Linked DNA regions of Homo sapiens: all the other regions are linked to region 3. The links are contacts of gene promoters, found by promoter capture Hi-C in human tissues and cell types (Jung and others, 2019). All regions are on one chromosome and are shown on one strand. Each heading gives the region's core, a stretch centred on a gene start or on the middle of the fragment in contact. The rest is flanking DNA. Distances are from core to core; before and after follow the strand shown.

Region 1 (3,592 bases), core at 975-3,474, 510 kb after region 3:
TTCTCTCAATAGGAAAAGATAATGTATCAAGTGAAAGCAAAAACCTCATCTAATGTGGTTCTGCTATCTAAATCTGAAATGCCCTAAGGCAACTCTCCAATACAGGCTGGAGGGCAACGCTACAGAAGTCACATACAGAAGGCTACCCTGATCCACAATTCCACCCTCCTCTGAAATAAAAAGGGCAACAACACTGTACTATGTAGAGTATAAATAGAAAGTGGTCTAGATGGTCTAACATAAGTACATAAAATAAAAAAGAAAAGACTTTTCACCTATAGTTACCTAAATAGCAAATTCTTTAGGAAACCAAGTTTTTTTGGTTGTTTTTTGAGGCGGAGTTTTGCTCCTGTCGCCCAGGCTACAGTGCAATGGCACCATCTCGGCTCACTGCACCCTCGCCTCCCGGGTTCAAGTGATTCTCCTGCCTCAGCCTCCCCAGTAGCTGGGATTACAGGCGCTTGCCACCACGCCCAGCTTTTTTTTGTATTTTTAGTAGAAACAGGGTTTCGCCATGTAAGCCTGGCTGGTCTCGAACTCCTGACCTCAAGTGATCCACCTGCCTCGGCCTCCCAAAGTGCTAGGATTACAGGCATGAGCCACCGCGCCCGTCCAGGAAACTAAGTTTATATAGCAGAACCATGTGCACAATGAAAGCATTCAAAAATACAACTGTCAGAGATATCGGAGTATTTTATTCAAAGTCTGAGTTCTTAAAAAAAAAAAACAAACCCTACTTTATAAACAGACCAGTTTTGAGATTAAAATGTAAATCCAAACTTTCCTGTTATAAATCTCAGCCTTGTAAAGAGGAGGAGCTTCCACTGCCTTTTCAAGGCTAACTTCGTTTAAAGTCCTAACGCACCGAAACAGACGCCAAGTCTACTACCCACCACCCATTGGCTCAAAGGAAGCCCCGCCCCGTACAGCCACGGTAACTGAACATCAAGGGAACCCCAGGGAAGGTTTTCCCTCCGCCACATTTCTAGTCTCTGATGACTCCCTGCCCCTCCCCTACCATCACCACCGCGGATCTAGGGTTCCAGCACCAGCCACGCACGCTCCTACAAGAGGACCTTGGGCACTTCGCCCCAATAGTTACAACCAAGAGGGGAGTGGGGGTGACCATGCTCCCACTCTCCTGGCTGCACGGTGCCAGACACGCTGCATGGAGCAAAGCGGAGAAAGCAGCTCCGGCACAGGGCCCTTGTGCCCCCAGGCAGAAGGCATGACCCAGCCACAAGAGTAAGTCCTGACACCTCCACAGCTCCCAGTCGGCGGGTGCCCCTCCCTCCCCACGGAGACATAGGGCGGGGCAGATCTAGGCGCCGAGACTCCCAGCCAGACCCGACAGCGGGCTTTCCCTAGCACCTCCTCATTGCCAAGGAGGCGGAAACCCGGGGCCTGGGCGGGGTGCAGGGGGGGACGGCCAAGGGGAGTGGCATCACGGATCAGTACGGCCCCTCCGGCCAACCGGATCCCAAGAAGGCGGAGGAACTCAGACTTCACGCCCCCTCCCTGCCGCGCCCTGAATCTACACGCGGGAGACCCCCCCCTACCCCTCCCCGACCCCAGCAGGCCAGAGCGCGGCCGCCAGCCCGAGGCCCCGCCCACCCCAGGAGGAGGGGAGGGGGTGGTCGGCCGCAAACTGCACTCAGCGCGAAGCCGGCCCCGCCCCTTTCTCCACAATCGCACGCGCGCGCCGGCCCCGCCTCTGAGCGGCGGCGCGAGAGCCCGCCCCCCTCCGCGCGCACCGGGACTACGCTCTCCTCCCCCTCCCGCGCGGAGAGCTACCCCGCTCCGCCCCCCACCCCCCTCACACAACCACACACCTCCCGCCCGTCTGCTCTACGGGAAGCCGAGGAGGTCAGCCCCCCCCCCCCAAAATACACACCCTCGAGTCCGGCGTTACCCGCCACCAGGCTCCCGCCCGGCCCCCGGCCCAGCGTGCTCTCACCGCAAAGCTGCTTCGGCCGCTCGTCACTGCGTGTCCCTCTCAGCGTGAGCCGCGAGCTCAGCAGGGAGGCCCCGAGAACGGCGCGGGGCACAGGCCCGCCGAAGCGGACTGCCAGCTACCTCTCCACTAACGAAGCGGTCACAGGCTCCGGTGCCCAGACTGGGAAGGAGGGAGGGAGGGAGGGAGGGAAACTCCGAGGGGGGAAGGGGAGGGGGGAAGATGGAGAAACCGTCTCCGCCGCCTCTACCGCCGCGGCCGCTTCTCTGTTACCCGGGAAATCCCGCCCACTCCCCCGACCCCGCCCCGCAGAGGGAAGACTCAGCTTCGTTCCAATACAGGACGCAATACCCGCCCGTCAAAGACTCAGCCAACCACCGAGGCCTGTCTTATGATTTTCCCGCCCCTTCCCCCTCGACTGGTAGGGGAGGGGGAGCCGCTCTCCTTCTCCACGCCCCTATTGGCGGGGAGCTTCCCTAACTCAACCCCGCCTATTGGAGACGGACTGCTGAAGCCCACCCCCGAGCCCCAACACTATTGGAGGAAGCAGGGAAGCTCTTCCTGTCTCATTGGAGGACACCACATAACCCGCCCTGCAGCGTCTCAGCCACAGGCCTAACAAGTTGGCTCCCGCCTCCGCTGGTCATCGCATTGGAAGGCTACCCCTGGCTCTCCCACCGCCCCAGTAAGGTAAGTAACCGATGTGGGGTAAAATGTCTGTAAGTGAAACAGGCTCCGCCTACCGCACTGCCGGGCCAGGCCCCGCCCCAAGAGTCGGATTGGATATCTTGGCGCTGGTAGGACCCTCCATTGGCCAGGGCGCCCGTCTAGGAAGGAGCTAATTCCACCCTGCGCGAGGAGGCTGAACCTTAGCAGTCCTTTTGTGGAATGTTTACACTAGAGACTGAAGCTCGGAGTTCCAGGGCCCGAGATAGGAGGGGGAGCGGAGCTCATCAGCGGAGACTCCACATCCTAGGATTTGAAGGAAAGGCAGCCCACCATGGAGGACTCCCTCACAAAAAAAATGAGAGAATGAGAACTCATCCTTCCGTCCAGTTATCTTTACAGTTTACATTCTACACACTGCGTCCTTGTAAACACAAATATCCGGAGCAGCTGGCAACTCCTTTCAGCCAAGTAGAGTACAGAACTAAGGTCTGGAGACCTAGGCGGAGAAGTAAACTCCCTAGAGCTGAATATGCAGTCCTAAGAGGGCGGAGATAACCAAAAGAGAGGCGGGCTCTAACAGCCACCGCCCTGGCAAGCCTCCGGAAGGCGGAGCGTGAGGCACAAGGTACTCACGATCTCCCGGGTGGATCTGGAGGCATCCTCAGAACTGAGAAAGGAGAGGAAAACACCAAAACAGGCCACGGCATAAATTAACATTGGGGACATGCCACACTCAGAGAATGGATAAAATTTCCGTAGTTGGGGACATAAGATAACGGCTGTTCACCTTCTCCTTGGCCGGGAGTGTTAATAGCAGTTCCTGTGCCCTCTCTGTGTAGGTAACAGTGCCTCGAACACACAGTGAGACAAAGTGCTTTCAATTCCTAGTTTGCTTTTATTTATTCACCAAATAGGGCGTGGGCCTGACGCTGATCTTACTTTGGGGGGCGCTCTCTCAGCGCCAGGAGA
Region 2 (3,172 bases), core at 245-2,744, 580 kb before region 3:
ATCACCCCTTACCACAAAATCTTCCTTTGGCTTAATCTCTCCCACTCTAGGTTCCCACACTGCCCTTAATCCTGCTTGAAGCAGCCCTGAGAAACATTGCCCATTATCTCTCCATACCACCCCCAAAATTTTTGCTGCCCCAACACTTCAACACTATTTTATGTTATTTTTCTTACTAATATAAGAAGACAGGAATATCAGGCCTCTGAGCCCAAGCTAAGCCATCATGTCCCCTGTGACCTGCACGTATGCACCCAGATGGCCTGAAGTAACTGAAGGATCACAAAAGAAGTGAAAACGGCCTGTTCCTGCCTTAACTGATGACATTACCTTGTGAAATTCCTTCTCCTGGCTCATCCTGGCTCAAAAGCTCCCCCACTGAGCACCTTGTGTCCCCTGCCCGTGCCTGCCAAAGAACAACCCCTTTGACTGTAATTTTCCATGACCTACCCAAATCCTATAAAACGGCCCCACCCCTATCTCCCTTCGCTGACTCTCTTTACGGACTTAGCCCACCTGCACCCAGGTGATTAAAAAGCTTTATTGCTCACACAAAGCCTGTTCAGTGGTCTCTTCACAGGGACACGCGTGAAAGAGAGAACCCTGAAATCTGGCATGCCGGTGAAAGGATAAGAATTTCTTATGAGTCAGTCTCTGGGCTCTTTCCCTCTATGCAAACTGGTTAAATATAAAGTAGAAGTCACGTATATCTCCTCTGTAAGATTTTAAATTAATTGGTTTAATAATAATAAAAGCTTAAGTCAAATATTTTGTCAGAAAAGTAGAAAGTGTAATGCCTTTTAGTTCATGTGACTTTAGCAATAGTTGGGAAATAAAGACAGTTTTCAAGATTATTGGAAAAATACAGTTGTCTTCAAAATGTAAACATGTGGTGTACATTATGTTCAAATACTAGGTTTGCTAAATCCTTTAACATCATAAGCTACTCCTTTGGCTTTTGAAAATTGTTTAACTTGCCTGCTTTCCAGCTAGGTAAGGCCTGGGGACACGTGGAGTTAGCCATGCCCCTAGCTGTGCTGGAAGTAGTCAAACCTTATCAGAAACTTTATCAGAACTTACCAGTTTTTTTTGTTTTTGTTTTTGTTTTGACAGAGTCTCACTCTGTCCCCCAGGCTGGAGTGCAGTGGCGCAATCTCGGCTCACCCACAATCTCCATCTCCCAGATTCAAGCAATTCTCTGCCCTAGCCTCCTGAGTAGCTGGAATTACAGACGCCCGCCACCACACCTGGCTAATTTTTTATTATTATTTTTAGTAGAGATGGGGTTTTACCATCTTGGCTAGGCTGGTCTTGAACTCCTGACCTCATGATCCACCCGCCTCGGCCTCCCAAAGTGCTGGGATTACAGGAGTGAGCCACCGCGCCTGGCCTAACTTACCAGGTTTTATGTTAAAATTCGCCATTATAGGCCAGTCACAGTGCCTCGCACCTGTAATCCCAGCATTTGGGGAGGCCGAGGCAGGTGGATCACCTAAGGTCAGGAGTTCAAGACCAGCCTGACCAACATGGTGAAACCCCCATCTCTAGTAAAAATACAAAATTAGCTGGGCAAGGTGGTGCCTGCCTGTAATCCCAGCTACTGGGGAGGCTGAGGCAGGAGAATCATTTGAACTCAGGAGGCAGAGGTTGAAGTGAGCCGAGATCATGCCATTGCACTCCAGCCTGGGCAACAAGAGTGAAACTCTGTCTCAAAAAAAACAAATTTGCCATTATAACATGCAATTAAGACTACTAGAAACAGTTTTACATGCAAGGTGTATAAGAACAGTAGAAAGTGTTGGGGGTTTTTTTGTGTGTGTGGAAGGTTACAAAAGGTTTTTGCTTCTTTAAAATTTCTGAGTCATCATTTTGGCAAAATAAATAGTTTACGGTAATCTGGAATTCCAAAATCAAACTTCAGTTTCAAAATTGTCTTTCCTAATGCCTGGCTTTCTAGATGAATCAGAGGGCCCCTGAAAACATCCAGAAAAGAGGTAAACAGGATTATTTGACATGTTTAGGTACATGGGATTGACAAAATGATGTTAAATCTTCTTTAGGTTATATTTTTGTGAATAATATATTCCAAAATTGTATGGGATTTCTCAAATTCTAATGTCTAAGTATATGTTACCAATCACAATTATAATTATGTTAAGTTATTGTAAACCACAAAAATGACCAAATTTTCTTGTATAAAGCTACTAACCCACGTAAAACAACAACAACAAAAAATTAATTACATATCAAGAAAAGACTTTCATGTTAAACCAGCTAATACTGAAATTGTTTAAAATAGTTTATAACCTGTCGCTTTGCAGATGCCGTCACTGCCACCAGGAGCCCTGTACTATCAGCCATGGTCAACCCCACCGTGTTCTTTGACATCGCAGTCACGGCGAGCCCTTGGGTCACGTCTCCTTTGAGCTGTTTGCAGACAAGATTCCAAAAACAGCAGAAAACTTTCATGCTCTGAGCACTGGAGAGGAAGGATTTGGTTATAAGGGTTCCTGCTTTCACATAATTATTCCAGGATTTATGTGTCAGGGTGGTGACTTCATATGCCATAATGGCACTGGTGGCAAGTCCATCTATGGGGAGAAATTTGATGATGAGAACTTCATCCTAAGGCATACACGTCCTGGCATCTTGTCCATGGCAAATGCTGGATCCAATACAAACGGTTCCCAGTTTTTCATCTGCACTGACAAGACTGAGTGGTGGATGGCAAGCATGTGGTCTTTGGCAAGGTGAAAGAAGGCATGAATATTGTGGAGGCCACGGAGCGCTTTGGGTCCAGGAATGGCAAGACCAGGAAGAAGATCACCATTGCTGACTGTGGACAACTCTAATAAGTTTGACTTGTGTTTTATCTTAACCACCAGACCATTCCTTCTGTAGCTCAGGACAGCACCCTCCACCCCATTTGCTCGCAGTATCCTAGAATCTTTGTGCTCTCGCTGCAGTTCCCTTCCATGCCTAGCTGGACTGCAGAGTTGAGTTAAAGTTTATGATTATGAAATAAAAACTAAATAACAACAAAAAATTGTTTATAACCAATGCTTGATCCCATATTCCTAGGAAAACAATTAAAGCTTCAGGTATATTTGGTCTTCTGGTCAGCCATTTAAACATTTTATAAAGGGATTTCATTCCATTGTTATTTTCCATG
Region 3 (3,244 bases), core at 702-3,201:
CTCTACTAAAAACACAAAAAGTAGCCGGGCATGGTGGCAGGTGCCTGTAACCCCAGCTACTCCGGAGGCTGAGGCAGGAGAATCGCTTGAGCCAAGACCGTGCTATTGCACTCCAGCCTGGGCAACAAGAACGAAACTCTGTCTCAAGAAAAAACAAAACAAAACAAAACAAAACAAAAACAAACAAACAAACAAAAAAAAACAAGGAGTCAGTTTCCCAAGATGGACTTTGGTTTCCTTTTCTATAAAATAAAATGGCTTCCACGATCTCTAAAGTACACTCTAGGTTGGCTGCAGTGGCTCATGCCTATAATCCCAAACTTTGGGAGGCTGAGGTGGGAGGATCACCTGAGCCCAGGAGTTCAAGCCCAGCCTGGGCAACATAGGGACACTCCGTCTCTAATTTAAAAATAAATAAATAAACAAAAATAAAGTACCCTCCAGCCTTATGGTTCTACGACAAATGATAAAAGTCTAAAATGAATGAAGCAAAACATATTCTTTTTTTTTTTTTTTTTTTTTTGAGACGGAGTCTCGCTCTGTCGGCCAGGCTGGAGTGCAATGGCGCGATTTCGGCTCACTGCAACCTCCGCCTCTCAGGTTCAAGCGATTCTTGTGCTTCAGCCTCCCGAGTAGCTGGGATTACAGGCGCCCACCACCACACCCAGCTAAATTTTTTGTATTTTTAGTACAGACAGGGTTTCACCATGTTGGCCAGGCTGGTCTTGAACTCCTGACCTCAGGTGATCCGCCCGCCTCGGCCTACCAAAGTGCTGGGATTACAGGCATGAGCCACCGCGCCCGGCTGAGTTCTTTTTTTAATTTTTAACTTCAGCATACCCTGAAACGAGTTTCTGAGTTCTTATGTTTAAATACGCATGCATAGTTGCCAGTGATGCAGGTTCAAAAATAAAATATAATATGCATGCATAGAAGCTAAATTTCACGGACCAAGATCGAAGTGCAATTACTGTAATTATTCTATGGTGGTGGACTCAAAACCTCCCAGCACACATATAAAGGGAAGGAAAATAGACAAAAATCAGAAGCACGTCTCATACTCCAGCAATCAGGCTTCTATTACAAAGGGGAAAAAACACGAAGCGTTCCTATGCTTGTAAAACCCAGTATTCCTGTGTCTGTGACATTCAGTTTTCAAAAGAGTGATATTTTTATCATAAGCCCTATCAAAACTCTGGCTATCTTCCGGAGATCAGGAAACAACCACACACTTCCATCTATTTTAAACGTGGAAGAATTAGAACGTGGCACAGCAGACCCTAAAAATGATGGAAAAGGCTGTGAAGGTGACACACTAATCGCTAACCGAGAAATGCCTGATTGAAAAGTATAATCGTGTGTCCCATACGGAAGTATATTGTGTCCTCGGACCCCAAGCGGCGTGCCCGGAGGCTCAATGTCACCTTCGCCGAGGCGCTGCAGGCCGGCGGCGGCCACTCTCGGTCAGGTGGCCGCAGGGTCGGCGCTGGGGCAGGGTCATGGCCCGGGAACCGAAGGGGAGCGCTGCGTCCCCTCCTCGGCGCCCACAGCAGGTCCACATCTGACCTGTCCGCGGTGGCACAGCCAGGAAGTTGCGCGGGGGGAGGCCCCGGGGGCGCGCTTTCAGGTCCTCCACTACTCGAGGCGGCGGGCAGGGCGGCCCGCGGTCACCGGGTTCAGTAACCAGGGTAGGGCAAGGGCTAGGCCGGGGAGAGCCCGCCCCGGAGTGGCAGCGGGGACCCAGGTCACCGCAAGGACACGAGGGCGCGGGCAGTGGCAAGCAGGGGCCTTACCCACGGCGGGGCCGGGGGTCCGGGCGGAGTGCAGGAGGCCTCGAGGGTCGGCCCGGGTGGTTGCGGCCACAGCGCAGCGGCGGAGAGCGGCGCCCAGCATGACGGCGATGGCGGCGCGCGGGCTGAGGACAGAGAGAAGCCGGTGTAAGCTCGCGGGTTGCTCCGGAGCGGGCGGGGGCCGGACAGGCTCACAGCGGGCGGAGCACGTAGGCCCGCCCACTGCGACTCTGGCGCGTGGGCGGGAGGAGCCACCGCGCGGCCGGCGGCGGCGGGGGCTACGGCGGCGCGCTGAGGACAAACTGTTAGCCTCGCGTCCCGCCTTGTCTCTGGTCAGGTGACGTGCAGCTGCCATCCTGTAAGTAGGAATGGAGGCGAGGGAGGAGCAACCGACCGTGATCTTGTTCGAGTCAGGCCCAGGAGGGCACTTAATCACCTCAAAATAGGAATGACAGCAATAACAACAAACTATAATAAAAAATACGTACTTTGCGCCCGGGCGCTGTGGCTCATGCCTGTAATCCCAGCACTTTTGGGAGGCCGAGGCGGGCGGATCACCTGCGGTCGGGAGTTCAAGACCAGCCTGGGCAACATGGAGGAACCCCCGTCTCTACTAAAAATACAAAATTAGCCAGGCGTGGTGGCGCAACGCATGCCCGCAATCCCAGCTACTCGGGAGGCTGAGGCAGGAGAATCGCTTGAACCCAGGAGGAGGAGGTTGCGGTGAGCCGAGATGGTGCCATTGCACTCCAGCCTGGGCAACAAGAGCGAAACTCCGTCTCAAAAAAACCAAACAAAACAAAAACCTACTTTGCTTAGCCCCGCCTTCTCATTGTGGCATAAAATAAAACAGCGAATGGGGGAAAGAATGCCGCTGGACGCGGTTGCTCACGCCTGTAATCCTAGCACTTTGGGAGCCCAAGGCGGGCGGATCACCTGAGGTCGGGAGTTCGAGACCAGCCTGACCAACATGGAGAAACCCCTGTCTCTACTAAAAATGCAAAATTAGCCAGGTGTGGTGGCGCATGCCTGTAATCCCAGCTATTTGGGAGGCTGAGGCAGGAGAATTGCTGGAACCCAGGAGGCAGAGGTTGCAGTGAGTTGAGATCGCACCATTGCACTCCAGCCTGGGCAACAAGATCAAAACTCCATCTCAAAAAAAAAAAAGGCCTATGCGTAAGGGATTTTATTAGTACATATTCTTATATCACAAACCAGCTTGCATAAAAAATGAGTTAAACTACTTCATTTCACAGATTAGGAAAGAGGCTCAGAAATTAGGTTGCTGCTGGCAGTCAAGGATCTTTTCGCCACATCCCCAGTTCTGAGGACTCTCACCTGAATGTTTCCCATCTCCTACAGGAGGGCTCCTGAATCCACGATGGCTCTGAAATAGGGTTGATCAAGTTCCACAGTTGTTGCATCTTATCTCACTAGCTACATCCTAACTTTGA
Region 4 (3,595 bases), core at 307-2,806, 940 kb before region 3:
GAGGAGTTCCAGTTTCTGCGCTGCCAGCAATGCCAGGCGGAAGCCAAGTGCCCGAAGCTGCTGCCTTGTCTGCACACGCTGTGCTCAGGATGCCTGGAGGCGTCGGGCATGCAGTGCCCCATCTGCCAGGCGCCCTGGCCCCTAGGTGCAGACACACCCGCCCTGGATAACGTCTTTTTCGAGAGTCTGCAGCGGCGCCTGTCGGTGTACCGGCAGATTGTGGATGCGCAGGCTGTGTGCACCCGCTGCAAAGAGTCGGCCGACTTCTGGTGCTTTGAGTGCGAGCAGCTCCTCTGCGCCAAGTGCTTCGAGGCACACCAGTGGTTCCTCAAGCACGAGGCCCGGCCCCTAGCAGAGCTGCGCAACCAGTCGGTGCGTGAGTTCCTGGACGGCACCCGCAAGACCAACAACATCTTCTGCTCCAACCCCAACCACCGCACCCCTACGCTGACCAGGTGAGTAGGCCGGCACAGGGTGGGGTGGTGCATCCAAGTACCAGGTAGAGGGCGAGAGGAGCAAAGATCCAAAGAGTCACACAGCTGAGGACAAGGAGCTTCTGGGGCCTTGCAACTCTAAATGTGGTCTGCAGATATGCAGTGTCCGTGTTGATGACCACAATTTATGCTGCCAGTCCCCACGCAGGTGGATAGTAAGTTTCCAGTTTCCTCCTGTAATAAATAATGCTGCAGAATCATCTTTGCATCTTTATCCAGTAACTTCTTTAGGATAAATTTTTAGAAGTGCCACTGCTGGGTGTAGGGGGACGGGAATTCTACATTTGATACATGTTACCAAACTGCCCTTTAGAATTTAGTGGAATTTTCCGAGAGCACTGACACGGAATCTCAGTAAGGCTGGATTCTAGGATCAGAGACAAGTAGTTAGTTTCTGTCTGAAAAGTTGAAACCATTAACACCAGGCAGCGCTATCTGAGAATGTCTGTATGGGGAAAAAAAATCACATCCAGTTGTAATTATTTTTATTAAACAGATTTTAACTCAGTTTTTTAATAGGTAATACATTCGTACAGTTCACGAACAAAATTTGTAAAGAGGAGAGAGAGAGTGCAATCTTCTGTCCATGCCCAACTGCCTAATTCCCACCACTTCTCCCTCTTCCCATCCACAGGTAGCCATTGTTACTAGTTTTGAATGTTTCTTCTGAGAGTTTCTTTACGAATATATATGCAGGTAGGAGCAATCTTATCAGGTCCTATTTTCCCTCTTTTAGCCAAAAAGGTAGCATAACTATGTGAACTTTTCACCATTAGCAATAGATTGTTCATAGAAGGCGCTTCTTGGTTCTTAGAGATCCACTTGCAAAATGAAAGCATTTTTCGCTGGTTTTTGACAACTCAGAACTATATATGGCTAAACCACATATTTGCTGAACTACATATCTGCTAAACTGACTGTGATTTGTTTCCTGCTTTAGGATAAACTTCCCACACTATCAGAATAAGCTTTCCCCTCCGACTCCTCAACAGCTGGTATCACCACGTTTCTTAGCTTATTGTAAAGGTTGAGTGGCTTTCCACTTGTTTATTGGCCATTGTGTTTCTGCATTTGCGAGTGGCCTGTTTAGGTCCTTTGCCTGTTGTTGTTGTTGTTTCCGTTGAGGAATTAAGGGACTAATTAAAGAATTCAGGAACAAATTCCTCGAAAGAAAAAAATGTATGCATTTCTTTTGCTCTTACAATTTATGCAGTTTTAAAACTTACATATTTATTGGATTTTGATTGAAATTGCAATAAATTAGGAGAAATTGGCTTTATCTCTGGTTCTATCTTTTGGATTTAAAAAATTTTTTTTAATTTTTTTTTTTTTTTTTTGAGATGGAGTCTCGCTGTGTCACCCAGGCTGGAGTGCAGTGGCGCGATCTCGGCTCACTGCAACCTCCACCTCCCGGGTTCACGCCATTTTCCTGCCTCAGCCTCCCAAGTAGCTGCGATTACAGGTGCACATCATCATGCCTGGCTAATTTTTTGGCATTTTTAGTAGAGACAGGGTTTCACTATAATGGTCAGGCTGGTCTCCTGACCTCAGGTGATCCACCTGCCTCGGCCTCCCAAAGTTCTGGGATTACAGGCATGAGCCACCATGCCCAGCCTTATACTAATTTCTTAATGAATTTGTAAGCTTTCATGTTTTGAACGTGATAATGCAGCCATCCCACGGGATCCATGGGAGTCTGTTTCAAATTCATAGATGCTCAAGTCTCTGATATAAAATGGCATAGTATTTGTATATAACCTCTACACATCCTCCTGTATACTTTATTTTTTATTTTATTTTTATTTTTTGAGACGGGGTCTTGCTCTGTCGCCCAGGCTGGAGTGCAGTGCTGCACTCGTGGCTCACTGCAGCCTCAATCTCTTGGGTTCAAACAATCCTCCCACCTCAGCCACCAGATTATACAGGACTGCAGGTGTGCACCACCACACTCAGCTAATTTTTAAATTTTTTGTAGAGACAGGGTTTCACGACATTGCCCAGACTGGTCTTGAGAACTCTTGGGCTCAGGCAGCAACCCTCCCTAGGCCTCTCAAAGTGCTGGGATTACAGGTGTGAGCCACTGTACCCATCCCCTCCTGTATACTTTAAGTCATCTCTAGATTACTTATAATGCCTAATACAATGTAAATGCTATGTAAAGAGTTGTTTTACTATATTTTTGAATTTGTATATTTTTTTATTGTGGTACTTTTTTAATTGATTTTTTTTCGCCTGAATATTTTTGATCCAAGATTTGTTGAATCCACGGGTGCGTAACCTGCAGATACTGAGGGCCAACTGTACATATAAATTGTTTAGCGTAGTGCCTGGCACATATTAAATACTCAGTGAATGTTAAAATTCTATTATAATTTCTCTGCTCTAGAACAATTTGAAGAATATAAGAAATTTAGGCTTATAAAAGTTTTTTGAAAAACCATCTTGGAACTGGTGCCTTTTTTATAGTAGATTTTTGGGAACTTTTCCCATTTTTGCCATGGCATTAATCTGTTTTGGCTCTTGTGTCAGATTTTTGGAAGATTTTCCAGTTCATCCTGAGTTATCTTTCATTATTTAAAAATCTCCTATATGCCTGTAACTATACCCCCTTTTTTTATTTCTGATGTTGTATATTTGTGGTTTAGCAGTCTTTTCAAAGTACTGTACTTTTAGTCTTTCCTTAGATTGCTTACTGATTTTAATGTTTTCCTTCTTTCTGTTTGATCATTTTATTTTTGTCATTTTCTTCCTTCTAACTTTTGTCATTATTCATTTTCTAGCTTCTTGAACTTATAATTCATTTATTTGCAATCTTTATTGTTTAATAATAATAACTTTTTTTTTTTTGAGAATCTCCCTCTGTCACCCAGGCTGGAGTGCAGTGGTAGATCTTGGCTCACTGCAACCTGTGCCTCCTGGGTTCAAGTGATTCTCCTGCCTCAGCCTCCCCAGTAGCTGAGACTACAGGTGCCCACCACCATGCCTGGCTAATTTTTTTTATTTTTAGTAGAGACGGGGTTTCCCCATGTTGACCAGGCTGGTCTCGAACTCCTGGCCTCAAGTGATCCACCCGCCTCAGTCTCCCAAAGTTCTGGGATTAC

The links. The method cuts DNA at HindIII sites, captures the fragments that hold promoters and counts their contacts. A contact is called where the count stands out against the background at its distance.
Region 1: the fragment with the promoter of SIN3A here is called in contact with the fragment with the promoter of COX5A in region 3 in 2 of the 25 tissues and cell types used here (hippocampus and mesenchymal stem cells).
Region 2: a fragment that was not itself captured here is called in contact with the fragment with the promoter of COX5A in region 3 in 2 of the 25 tissues and cell types used here (aorta and psoas muscle).
Region 4: a contact is called between a fragment that was not itself captured here and the fragment with the promoter of COX5A in region 3, in 1 of the 25 tissues and cell types used here (dorsolateral prefrontal cortex).

The regions. Positions count from the first base shown.
Region 1 is chr15:75,449,466-75,453,057 of GRCh38, forward strand. It overlaps SIN3A (SIN3 transcription regulator family member A), which reads right to left and starts at 2,225. Exons shown (of 21, transcript NM_001145358.2): 1 at 1,958-2,225. RefSeq lists enhancers at 643-1,562, 990-1,119, 2,830-2,879, 3,109-3,592 and silencers at 1,370-1,869, 2,090-2,189. The HindIII fragment of the contact is 10,283 bases long and covers 1-3,592 here.
Region 2 is chr15:74,359,193-74,362,364 of GRCh38, forward strand. All of the region lies in intron 1 of CYP11A1 (cytochrome P450 family 11 subfamily A member 1), which reads right to left. It also overlaps the pseudogene PPIAP46. Among named protein-coding and RNA genes, the nearest start is that of CYP11A1, 6.9 kb to the right of the region's middle. The HindIII fragment of the contact is 5,215 bases long and covers 1-3,172 here.
Region 3 is chr15:74,936,122-74,939,365 of GRCh38, forward strand. It overlaps COX5A (cytochrome c oxidase subunit 5A), which reads right to left and starts at 1,952. Exons shown (of 5, transcript NM_004255.4): 1 at 1,794-1,952. The coding sequence starts at 1,893. RefSeq lists a silencer at 1,646-2,205. The HindIII fragment of the contact is 14,403 bases long and covers 1-3,244 here.
Region 4 is chr15:73,998,022-74,001,616 of GRCh38, forward strand. It overlaps PML (PML nuclear body scaffold), which reads left to right. Exons shown (of 9, transcript NM_033238.3): 2 at 1-455. Among named protein-coding and RNA genes, the nearest start is that of PML, 5.1 kb to the left of the region's middle. RefSeq lists an enhancer at 1-69. The HindIII fragment of the contact is 4,698 bases long and covers 1-3,595 here.